Regions from separate parts of the Homo sapiens genome. Here region 1 is linked to region 2. Evidence: promoter capture Hi-C in human tissues and cell types (Jung and others, 2019). All regions are on one chromosome and are shown on one strand. Each heading gives the region's core, a stretch centred on a gene start or on the middle of the fragment in contact. The rest is flanking DNA. Distances are from core to core; before and after follow the strand shown. Region 1 has its middle 15 kb from the start of OR2A14. Region 2 holds the start of OR2F1 (olfactory receptor family 2 subfamily F member 1).

Region 1 (5,701 bases), core at 1,440-3,939, 180 kb after region 2:
GTTAATATGATATTCTTGATAAGATATTCTTATAAATAATATATTTTATAAAAAGTAACTTTATTTTACATTTTTGCAATTCTTAAAATATTCAGCTTAATAGAAAGCTGCATTTTACGTTTCCTTCATTCTATCTGTTGCCATATCAGCTAGCCTCTGAAAAAATTCAGTGTGCACTCGTGAGAGAACGAGGGTAAAAAAATATTAAAACTATCTAAATAGTATTGTGAAAATAGTTTTTATCCCACAGACTCTTTGAAAGCTTGTCAGAAATTTTCAGAGTCCCTCAACCACACTTAAAGAATAGCAGACAGCATATCAAAATGTCAGTCTTCATATATGTAAAATGAGGATAATGATCAGATTAAAATATATAGTCCATATAAAGCAGAAAATGTGTCACATTTTCTGAAACACAAAAAGGGCTCAATAATTGATACTTATGTCTATTTTAATCCTTTTTCATTTGTATCTATCACTTCCTACAGGAAATAGAAATTTATGTTGGCATTGAGAGATCTGTTCCTTCTCAGAGTCCCCATACCAGGTTCCATGAAAACCACCTCTCAACTATCTGAAAGTCACGGCCTCTCTTATACCTTCATGGAGATTGTAGGGAAGTATAAAGTAATAAAACCATAATCATTTTAAGAGTTTGGATATTGTAATTTGTGATGTCTGCCTCATGTTTATGACCCTTGAGATCTGTGAAAGCTTGTGCAGAAATAGTGTGATGCCATCATCTGCCCTGCCTGGTCCTGATAATTTTCCTGTAAGGACAATCAGAAAATCTTTGTTCTCCTCCAGAGAGAAGATCCGGAGATCTTCCCTATACTCCTTAGAGAGAAGACAAATAAGTATATATTATTATCCTCCTGGGAATTTAATTCTCAATAGAAACTCAAGAATGTTTTTATTCATCTGATTCTAAAATAAAAGCTATGCTCCTGGAGTTAGCTAAAGAAACTTCAGTGAGTCCAGTGAATCTGTCTGTATCTGGGATTTAATCCTATGAAGGCTTCCAGAGGGAGTAGGAGTCTATATTCATTTTAGCGGTATGTGTCTCATCTCTGTAGGGTTTATTCTAGGTCAAAATATTATCCTGAGGAAAAGTCTAGTGCTAACATCTCCTTATATAGAAGACATTCATTTCTGCTGGGAGGTGTTTTCCTGTATAGGTAGTTGAACTAGAGCTGGATGACTGCAGAAATCACCATGGCTATGCTGGAAGAACAACATCCCTGGGTGACTTTCCCTCCTGAATCAAAGTGTAGATTGCAGGTAGTTGGAATACACACCAATGTCCCTCTCCTCCTCCCAGGGAACGTCTTCCTGCTCTGCTGTGAACAGGGGTCCCAAGGCTCCCCCAGCATCTCTCGCACCATCACCTGCCAATGTCCCTTGATGGTGGAGGTCAGAGCTAGCCCCATTGTCTCAATGAGAAGGAGCTCAGAGAAGGAGGGGCTTTGTATCCAGGTCTCTGAATAAGGCTTTGAAATAGCCAAATTAATGCAAGGACTCTATACATTACCCAGCCTAAATAAAGATATACATGGCCAGGAAAACCTTTCTCAATGGAAACGAAAAATCTATCACAGTTACATTACATCTTTTTCTATCTGAAAGAGTTTAAAAGGTAAGTCTGTCATAGAATTATGTCTTTGGGGGAACTATCCCAGGCTATCACTACTACTAAGAGTTGGAGAAATAGAATAAAGCACTCTAGCTGAAGAAACATTCTGGGTTGCAGGACTGCCTGGGTGGAAAATAGCTCATACTGATCAAGAAAACCTTTTATTTTCTGATCTGCTATTGTTTTATTTATTCTATTGGAAAGGTGAAATTTTAGGCATCATCACTGTGATATTTTGTTCTCCATTCCAGTGTGTTAGCCACTTAAAGATGTTAATCTGCCTGCAATTTTATTTTTTTTAATTTTGTCTGTTTTTCAACAGCAAATGGTAAGGGTAATGACAATAAAAAGATTTATAATCCAGAAAAAATAACTAGACTAAAATATCAAGAAACGAATGTTCCTACTGGGTAACAATAGATTGAATTATCTTCAATAATATTGTTATCCTTTATATTCAGAAATTAAATATGTTTCAGACATGAGTATTATGTCCAACTCTGTTTAATAAAGATTTTGCAATATGATGTTACTATCCCCACTTGGCGTACTATAGGAATATATCTTATTGTAACAAAATAATTTAATGCATATTTATATAGAACCCTCTTCAAATACAATGTATTTATAGAAATTTAAGAATTTGTGATTTTGCCTTTCTGTTTTATTGAGTTATTGATCTCAAAGAAACACTGCCCATGTGACTGATCCCTCTTAGGCTTAGTTTGCAAAAGTTCACAATGCTCACACATGTATCTTCAAGCTTACCTCTCAGGTTATTTTACCTCCATATGAAGTACTTGCTTCAAAAATCCATTACTCTAAAATTGTCCTCAAGCATTGATTCAAAGCAGGTATATGATACTATATTTGTTTTTTACAGCTTGTGTAACAAATTACCACAAATGTGGTTGAATAAAACAATAGAAATTCATTCTCTCACAGATCTGGAATCTAGTAAAATTTTGCTCCCTTTGGGAAACCTAAAGGAGAACATATTTCATCCCTCTTCCAGCATTCCTCAGTGTCTGGCCACATCTCTGTCTGCTCTGTCGTTGCATCACCTTGCCTCTGTGTGCCTTCAGCAGTTTGTTTCAAATCTCCTTCTGCCTTTATTGCATAAGAAATGTTGTCATTGGAATTAGGGCTCATCCATAAAATTCAGGATTATCTTAAGATTCTTAATCACACCTGCAAAGACCCTCTTTCAAAATAAGGCAATATTCACAGGTGCTGAGGATTAGGATAGGGCTATATCTTTTGGGGGTCACCATTCAATCCACTACACATACAGTACATTTAAGTGGGGCCATTTTATCTACAGACGCAATATAGTCCCTACCATTATGCTAATTTGAATGTATCCTTTGCAAATACTGTTTTTAATTATTTTGACATTTCAAATAATCAAATTGTAGCTGTAATGTTTTTTTAAAAAGTATAAATTATTTTTACACTTTTTTAAAAAAGTATAAATTATTTTTACACTTTTTTAAAAAAGTATAAATTATTTTTACACTTTTTCTAAAAAGTATAAATCATGTCCTGGCCAATAGACAAAAATATATATTATATATATTTACCATATATATTCTATATGTTATATATGTATAGTTTATAGAGTATATTTAATATACATATACATGAATAACTAAATCTATAAGTAAAAATGTCATTCATCTAAGTATTATACTTTTTTTAAAAAGTATAAATCATGTCCTGGCCAATAGACAAAAATATATATTATATACATTTACTATATATATCCCATATATTTTATACATATAGTTACAGAGTATATTTAATATACATATACGTAAATAACTAAATCTATAACTAACTAAAAATGTCATTCACCTAAGTAATAAGCATTTTCTGAGTGTCTACTTTTATCTACAAGTATACTACTTATTACAAGAGATGAAGAAGTATAAGATATATTACCATTCATTATCTGGTGAAGGCATATCTCCATTCAAATAAATGACATTTGATATCCTTGCCCCTTCATCTTTGATTTTACCTTGAGAATTGTCTATATCGTCATAGTGAGGACATAACTCTTTTAACTGTAATGATTGACCAAGCCTATACCTTTAATATGTGCCTAAAGAGCCTACCCTTGTGCCTCTACTCTAATTTGCTAGAATAGAAAAGACTCTCTTTATAGGCCGTCTATCAAGTAGGTTTTCAATGGGGCCTAGACAAGTTCAAGCAGGCTGCTTCCTTTCTTTTTATAGTAACTGGTTGTAAACATGCAAGAAAATCCTTCCAAGAAGAGGCTATGATTCCACTACAATTCCCCTTCACACTTATACAATGAGGCTAGTGGATAAGCATAGTAATGACATTAGTATTTTTGAAAGATTCATATGACTTTTGCAACTTAAATATAGGCCTGCCTGAGAATTTACATTTACCTATGCCTCAAATCCTCCAAACGGATAGTCAAAATTCTCAAAATTTTATTACTGAATCCATCTTACATTCTTATGCACTAAAAAATAAAGTCAGTAACAAGTATAAACTGAAAATATATCCATCATAGAAAGAGATTTATAACTATCTGGGAGTGTGTCTGCTTTATAGAAACCTTGCCATTTGCCATGTGTGATAAAATGAAATTATATTTATACAACATTTTAAGTGCTATGTTATTGATTATTTTAAATTATTTTTTAACTTGTCATTTCTGTGTGAGTAAAGATATTATCTTTTATTTAATATATATGAAGTGTTAACTCATTCTCAATGTCATTCACCTATGAAGCAGGACTTCCCCTCAAGGCAGAAACTGAAATTGAGAAGGAAACACTAGATTAGATAAAACATGAGAAATCTGTATTTGTTGTGCTTAATAATATATGTAGAAAGATGTCTAGGTGGGAAATCTGAAGTGCAATGTTAAGATGGTTCTTTCACATGGGACCGCATGGAACCTGGGGAGTAGCAGAAGGTTAATTTGAGATTACAGCATCATGATTGATAAATTAGACATCCTCTTCCACTAGGAGGCATCTTACAGTGATACACCTTAATATATTTGGGATTTTTGCTTGTTTGATTTTTAGATGAGTACACAGAGATATATAAATACATAAATTGATTGACTTGACTGAGCACTTCTAAGTCTCAGAATTTACTATTAAAAATGTCATGAAAAAAGACAACAAATACAAACATATACATATATAATTTAATTACTGAAGCATTATATAGCACACAATCTAATGATGAGATAATACATTAAGTCCATTAGAATATTTGTATTGAATAATAGCTGTTCAAACTATGTTTCAGAGAAATATTTTGACATGGGAAATGGTTCATGATATATGATAGAGCTAGTTAAACAAATAGCATTTTTCATATAATTTTTATAATAATGATATATATGAAATAAACAGTAGAAAAGTATAACTGCACAATTATTTAAAATGATCACTTTTGTTTGTATGTTTCAACATGTCATCTCTTTAGTCCTTTAACTAGAGTTTCACGTTTTTCTAGGTTTTTAAAACTTCAAGTCAAAATCTCATACAAAGTAGGTATCACATTGTTTACACAAGGGTTCACACAAAATCTAAAATATTCAAGATTCTAAAATTTCTAAATAAGAATAAAAGCAGGAAAATAATATAAAACCTGATGGTTAATAAGGTAGTAGAATTACAAACATGTATTTTTCACCAAAAATAAAATAATAAATATCAAAACCATTTTCTTCAATGCTAACACCATAAAGGAAGTCAGTTAAGTTATATTATTTTCAGAAGAATCTTGAGAATGTATTATCCCCATAATAATTTGTATGCTTTCTCAAATTATATGCTCTTGTTTTTAATGTAGAATACCAGAAATTCATGCTATCCTCATGATAAAAATCATGATAAAATACAAATTATCATGATAAAATATAAATTATTAAAAATCCAATAAAACCCAGATGAATATAAATATCGGCTTATAAATATAATTCTTTATTAAAAGTGATTATAACTTTTGGGGGAAATGGCTGTTTTGTGATTGAAGTGGGGAGTATACAAAGGGAGCTTGAAACATCTGGTC
Region 2 (5,641 bases), core at 1,168-3,667:
TAGAGGAGAAACTCGTAGCTATAAAACTTTTACTTAGATGTTGATTGATATCCATGAACATGTGGCAGGAATATATTACCTTTCCAAATATGTATATTTCCAGATAAATTGTCAATTGTTTTAATGTCTTTTCTCTCAATTATTTCCCTAAGAGTATTTTGATTTTAATTTTCCTTTCTATGATGGAAATTTTAAATGTAAGATGATGAAATAAATTGATAGATGTCTACAGCTCTCAGAATATGAACTGGTACTACAGTTGATGCCCCTGACTCAGGCTTCGTTAATCTAGAGTGTGTTGTAGAGTTGAGACTATTGATAGTCACTGTTGAGACTATCCAGACTAAGGAAATTATGTGCAAAAGAATACCCTAGACTTAGATATAGAAGAGAGGAGATATAAAGAAGATGAGCATTTACAGAATGAAACCATGATAAAACATATCGGCAAAGGCGAATTTTAGGATTGCACCATATTTGAGACACTGGGTCTAATAATTGGACTCAGATTATATGAAAAGTCAACCAAATCAAGACAGGAAATAGACAACAAGGTCTCAAAGAAGAAAGACTAATTGTCTTCTCAGGATATCTAAAACCATCTTTGAGATCTCACCCACCCAGTGGCACTTGGGTTCTGGGTGTCCAAATGTTAGGATGATGGAAATACTTCTGCCCATGATGGATGCATTCAGCGTATACAACCAAGTGCTCAACCGCAGGTCAGATGCACCTTCCTCTAAATGAAATGAACATTTCTAATGACAGCCCAAGTCTGTAAAGGAAGGTGTCTGGTTTATTTAGAGCAGCATGAAAGAAAAACGTATGTTTTTTTGTGGGACTTAACCTTCATGTGCTCTGTTGAATACAGAGTATTCAGAGCTCTATTTGCCTCAGCTAAGATTGTAGAGGACTCCAATAAGAAGGGCAAATAGGATTAAAACTCAGTGGAGTATTAGAATCATGGTGTACTCATTTTCTGGAGAGAAAGTTTTTGGCTTTTTAGTCCTTAGCTTTAGGGAATTATCACTATAATGAATAAGAGAATATTGGTAATATGCCCCGAAGCCTCAGTATGTCTCAGAATAAATTTACAAGGCTCTTACAAGGTTTTATTTAACCATGCACTCTTTGAATTGATGTAAATATTGGAAAGGATTATATTCAGAAATATATTTTTGGAATGTGAGACATTGAGGAATGCTTTTCTGGCGTGCATACCTCCTGAGTCTTTCCAAGTCAACACTTCCCTCTTCCTAATATGGAGGAAAAGGGAGAAGTTAATGTCTTAAGCCAGCCAGTCAATAGAGGTAGAAAATTATGTTAGATACTTTAAAATGTATAATACACTGACTGGGGTAGGATAGCAAATCATGGAACTCAATGTTGCGAATGGAAAATATACCTAGGTGTCAAGCCCTGGACATTTGATTCCTTGCAAGAATAAATTGAATATATTTCAGTCTTGGTCCACAGAGTAGCAATGGAATTTAAATGCAATTAAAAATAATAAAACAAAAATGTGAACAGCAGCACGTGAAGACATTTCCAGAGCCCCACAAATTATGATCCTGTCTGCGTGGCACCAACACAGTGATAAGTTCTGTCAATGCCTGATTGATCTTTAACTATGGGTCTGGCTTCTCATCTTTTACTTGATGAACAGTGGCTCATGGTTCCTCCAACGTCTTCTCATTTCATTAAAGCAGCAATAGGGGGAGGATGTGGCAAAAGGCTGAAAAGGAACTTTAGGGGAGAAGTCATTGTTGCTTGGGGCTGTACCCTTTCTTCTCAGCATTCTGCAGAGCTGTAGGGAGCTGAGCATGGATGGCACCCCCATCTCGGAGATCAACTCTTCAGGGTTAAATAAAATTCTAACAGACTAGTTGGCGGAATGATTGCATAATTTCAAAATACCAGATGTTTACAACAAATATTAACATATATCACTGCCTAAGAATTTACTATGAGTAAGATATTTAACTTCACTTAAGATCTTGCCTTTCCCTGTGTTCTTTTTAAGAAGGGGAGAGGAAAAGGCAATTTTAGAACAGGGGCCACATCTGCTGGAAGGCAGGCCTGAATATAGAGAGCTACAGAGACTTGCATGGAGCTTTTTGGCTCATAGATAAGGGGTTAGAATATAAATTCAGAGAAAGGAAGGCAGGAACGTCTATATAGCCCAATTTTATCTACCCCATCCAGATAAAGGCTAGTCCAGGTTTGAACATCTGCTAACATGGTTCTGTGAATTTTTCACTCTTCATCTTCTTCAGGTGACATATATTTTCAGTCAAAGATATTATAAGATGGTAGTCGATTGAAACAATAAGAAAAAGAGTAATGGGTGAATTTACCGAGATAGGATAGGTTGAAAAAGAACATTTAATTTGTTGCAATTTAGATTTAATTTTTATAATAAAGAAAATAGATTCCATGGAATCAATGAATTGATTTGCTTTACTAAAGAGAGATCTTGACTGATTGAAATTTAACTGTTAAATTAGAGTTTTTTTGTTATGTAAAATGAACTGTGTGAGGAATCTAAACACTTATTTTTTTGTTCTTTCTTTGTCGTTGATAGAAGAATATTTCAGTCCTGATATTTGCTGTAACTAATAATTACTGGATAAACAGAGAAGACACATGGAGGATATTTTACCTGGGTCCAACAAAAGTAATTTTGTTTTATTTATTTGTTTGACAAATAAAAATTGTATATATTTATGGCATAGATTTTAAGAAATCTTGTTACAAAAATAATATGTATGTGATGTGATGCATATATTAATTAGCTTAACTTAGCCATTCCAATAAAGGTAATATTTATCTAGAAAATTTTGAGCTTTGCTATTCATACCTCTTCTCTGATTTTTTTCCTGTAATTTTCAGGTTATTTACATCTAAAACTCCAGCTTTTACTATTATGTGATGTAAAGGATCAGTGTAAGCTGTTATACCAGTTGATAATGTTTAGGTACTTTATATTATAAAAGTTTCATTTAGCATTATTGCATTTTTAAACATTTCACAAAAAAGGACAATGTGCAACATAAATGTAATACATTTCAGGAATTAGAGACAGGGCTTTAAAAAAGATAATCATTCACAGAATATTTCAATAGCACCTGTCTTACTATATCACACATTGTTTTCTATTTCTTATGGTCACAGTGATTATCCTACATTCACCCCAATTCATAAAACACAGGAAGCAGTAATTCCTTTTTTCATTGTGATCCTGTTTATGGAGGTGAACCACAGGGTATGCCATTTTTCAGTACTGTGTTCTGAGCAGGCAGCGTGAATTGGTTATTTTCAATGGTCAAAAGAAAGCTCAGAACACATATAGAAAAAATTGATTTGATGTTTGTTGAGTATGAAGATGATATAACTCTAAGAATGTAAAATAGAATTTTATTGCTTACTAAAGCAACATTAGATGCCTGGCAAAAAGGTAATGTTGTTGGTGTTGGACAAGTACTGTGAAGAGCACAAAAGTCACACTTGTACACCACAAAGAGCTAAATAGGACTATTAGCTGTGTTCATTGTCCAATACTGGTTTTGTAACTTGGCTGCATGCTTGTATTAAGAGGTTTTGGTAGTTGTGTTTGTACAGACAAATTGAAGAAATATTCTCACATTTTTTCCTTAGTTAGTTGACCTCAATGAATGTCACCGGTGTAGGGAAAGTATAGATTCCACAGATTAGAGCAGTAAAGATCAAGCTCTGGCTTCCTATAGAAGTGGTTGGATATGAAGCATGTTACCTGACACCTAGTCCATTCACCTTGATATAAGAATAGAAAGCCAGTTATATTTAGCTGGAAGGTGAGCCCAGAATAATATGGAGATGGTTTTAACTGAAGGTGCATTAAAATCATCTGGCTCATACATATTTCCTCCTTCAACTGGCTTTCCAAATGCAGATGATATTTACATTTTCTTTGTCTAACATCAGTCCATAAACATTCGAAACAAGATATATTTTTTGAATATTAATTATTTTGAAACCCACAATAGCCATGGAAAAACACAGCATACTTGATGGGTTAACATATCAGTGAAAGATATTTAAGTATTAGCAGCCTATTTTAATAAAAGACTGCTGGAAAACACAAGGCATGATAATAAATGCTATAGTTAATAAAATAAAGTTAGTCATAGAAGAAGAGCAGATTATGGATTGGATGAAAAGTATTCTGCCCAGGATAAACTTAAATCTTTACACACTTAGACATTATAGATCTTTTTGTGCTTAAAAAGGACATAAAAATTTGTATTTTATATAATTAACTTGGAGGTTAGAGTGTAGGATTTTGGGAGTGAATGGAAGTTACATTAGGGAAATTTACAAGTAAGGTCTGGCAACTCTAGCAGATGGGAATAAAGAGGGAAAAGGTAAGTGTGGCTGAGAGTAAGGAGGAGATGGGGGAGATATATAATAAAGGAAGAGAATGTATTCTGTGGCATACAGAAGAAGAGGGAAAAATAAAAGATGATTCATTGAGAGAGTAGGAGAAATCTAATTCTGCCGATAGTAAAAAAGAACTCAGGAGGGAATTTCATTCGTGGATAGAGGAGTACAGGCATTGGTGAGATATTTAGGAAACATTCATTCAGCTTTTCTGGAATACACTTGGAGCTTTGAAGAGAAATCTAGAAGGTAAATGTAAAATTGAGAGTGAGCCATATAGAGTTGATAGTAATTATTATAGCTAGAAATAAAAAGACTTCCAAGAAAAACTGTAGAAGTTGAGTACAAGTTCTGAGCACAGAACTTTAGCAAATGCTCATACAGCAGAGCAGGAGAAGGAGGAAGGTTAAGAATGGTGACAAGGCAAATTCGATTGGAGGAAAATCAGGACAGAAGTCCATGACAGAGTTGAGAGTTTGAAGGAACAAATAGGTAACATTGTTAAAAGCTAAGTAAAGAATGCAAATAGAATAAAAATATCTCTGGAACTGATGATGGCAGGTTATCAGTAACCTTTAAGTTTTCAAATTCTAAAGATTAGTGAGGGTAGAAATGTTTACAGTCTCAGGAATAAATATTAGGAAATAAATCCAGACAATGGATTCCAATCATTAGAGATGTGAAATGAAGGGGTATTTAGAATGCTATATACACAGTAAAGCTTCCTAAATTGAGATGCCTGTATATTTTCTTTTATAATGAGGGAGAAGGAGTTACTCAGGAACAAGAGGAACCTGAGGATAGTAGAGAGGGAGAGTAAATGAAGAAAGAATATTCTGAAAGAGAGCATGAAGTCAAGACTAAGGATCATCAGTAAACAATGGACACCTGCCTGTTTCGGCACTTCTGTAGCTTTAGTCCTTCAATTCCTTTAATTTCATCAAGGACCCTTCAGCTGGCCAATATCAGGCACATTTCACACATGAAGAAAATGAGGCTTAGAGAAGCTAAGTATCTTGCTCCAAGTCTCAGGAAGCAGAACAAACACATGTGTATCTAAAACAGGAGCTGTTAGACTCTGAAGTTCACACTTTCTCTGAGATGAGACACTGTCACTCATTTGTAATGTGACAAGGACTTAGTGGAGAGACATGTTGGGTGGCTGAGAGGAGCACAGTGAGTCATGGGCTTGCAGGGTCTCCAGTGCGGCAGAGGAGCAAAT

Evidence for each region. The method cuts DNA at HindIII sites, captures the fragments that hold promoters and counts their contacts. A contact is called where the count stands out against the background at its distance.
Region 1: a contact is called between a fragment that was not itself captured here and the fragment with the promoter of OR2F1 in region 2, in 2 of the 25 tissues and cell types used here (liver and spleen).

The regions. Positions count from the first base shown.
Region 1 is chr7:144,135,008-144,140,708 of GRCh38, forward strand. No RefSeq gene overlaps it. Among named protein-coding and RNA genes, the nearest start is that of OR2A14, 15 kb to the left of the region's middle. The HindIII fragment of the contact is 6,882 bases long and covers 1-5,701 here.
Region 2 is chr7:143,952,427-143,958,067 of GRCh38, forward strand. OR2F1 (olfactory receptor family 2 subfamily F member 1) reads left to right here and starts at 2,418. Exons shown (of 3, transcript NM_012369.3): 1 at 2,418-2,677. The HindIII fragment of the contact is 7,987 bases long and covers 728-5,641 here.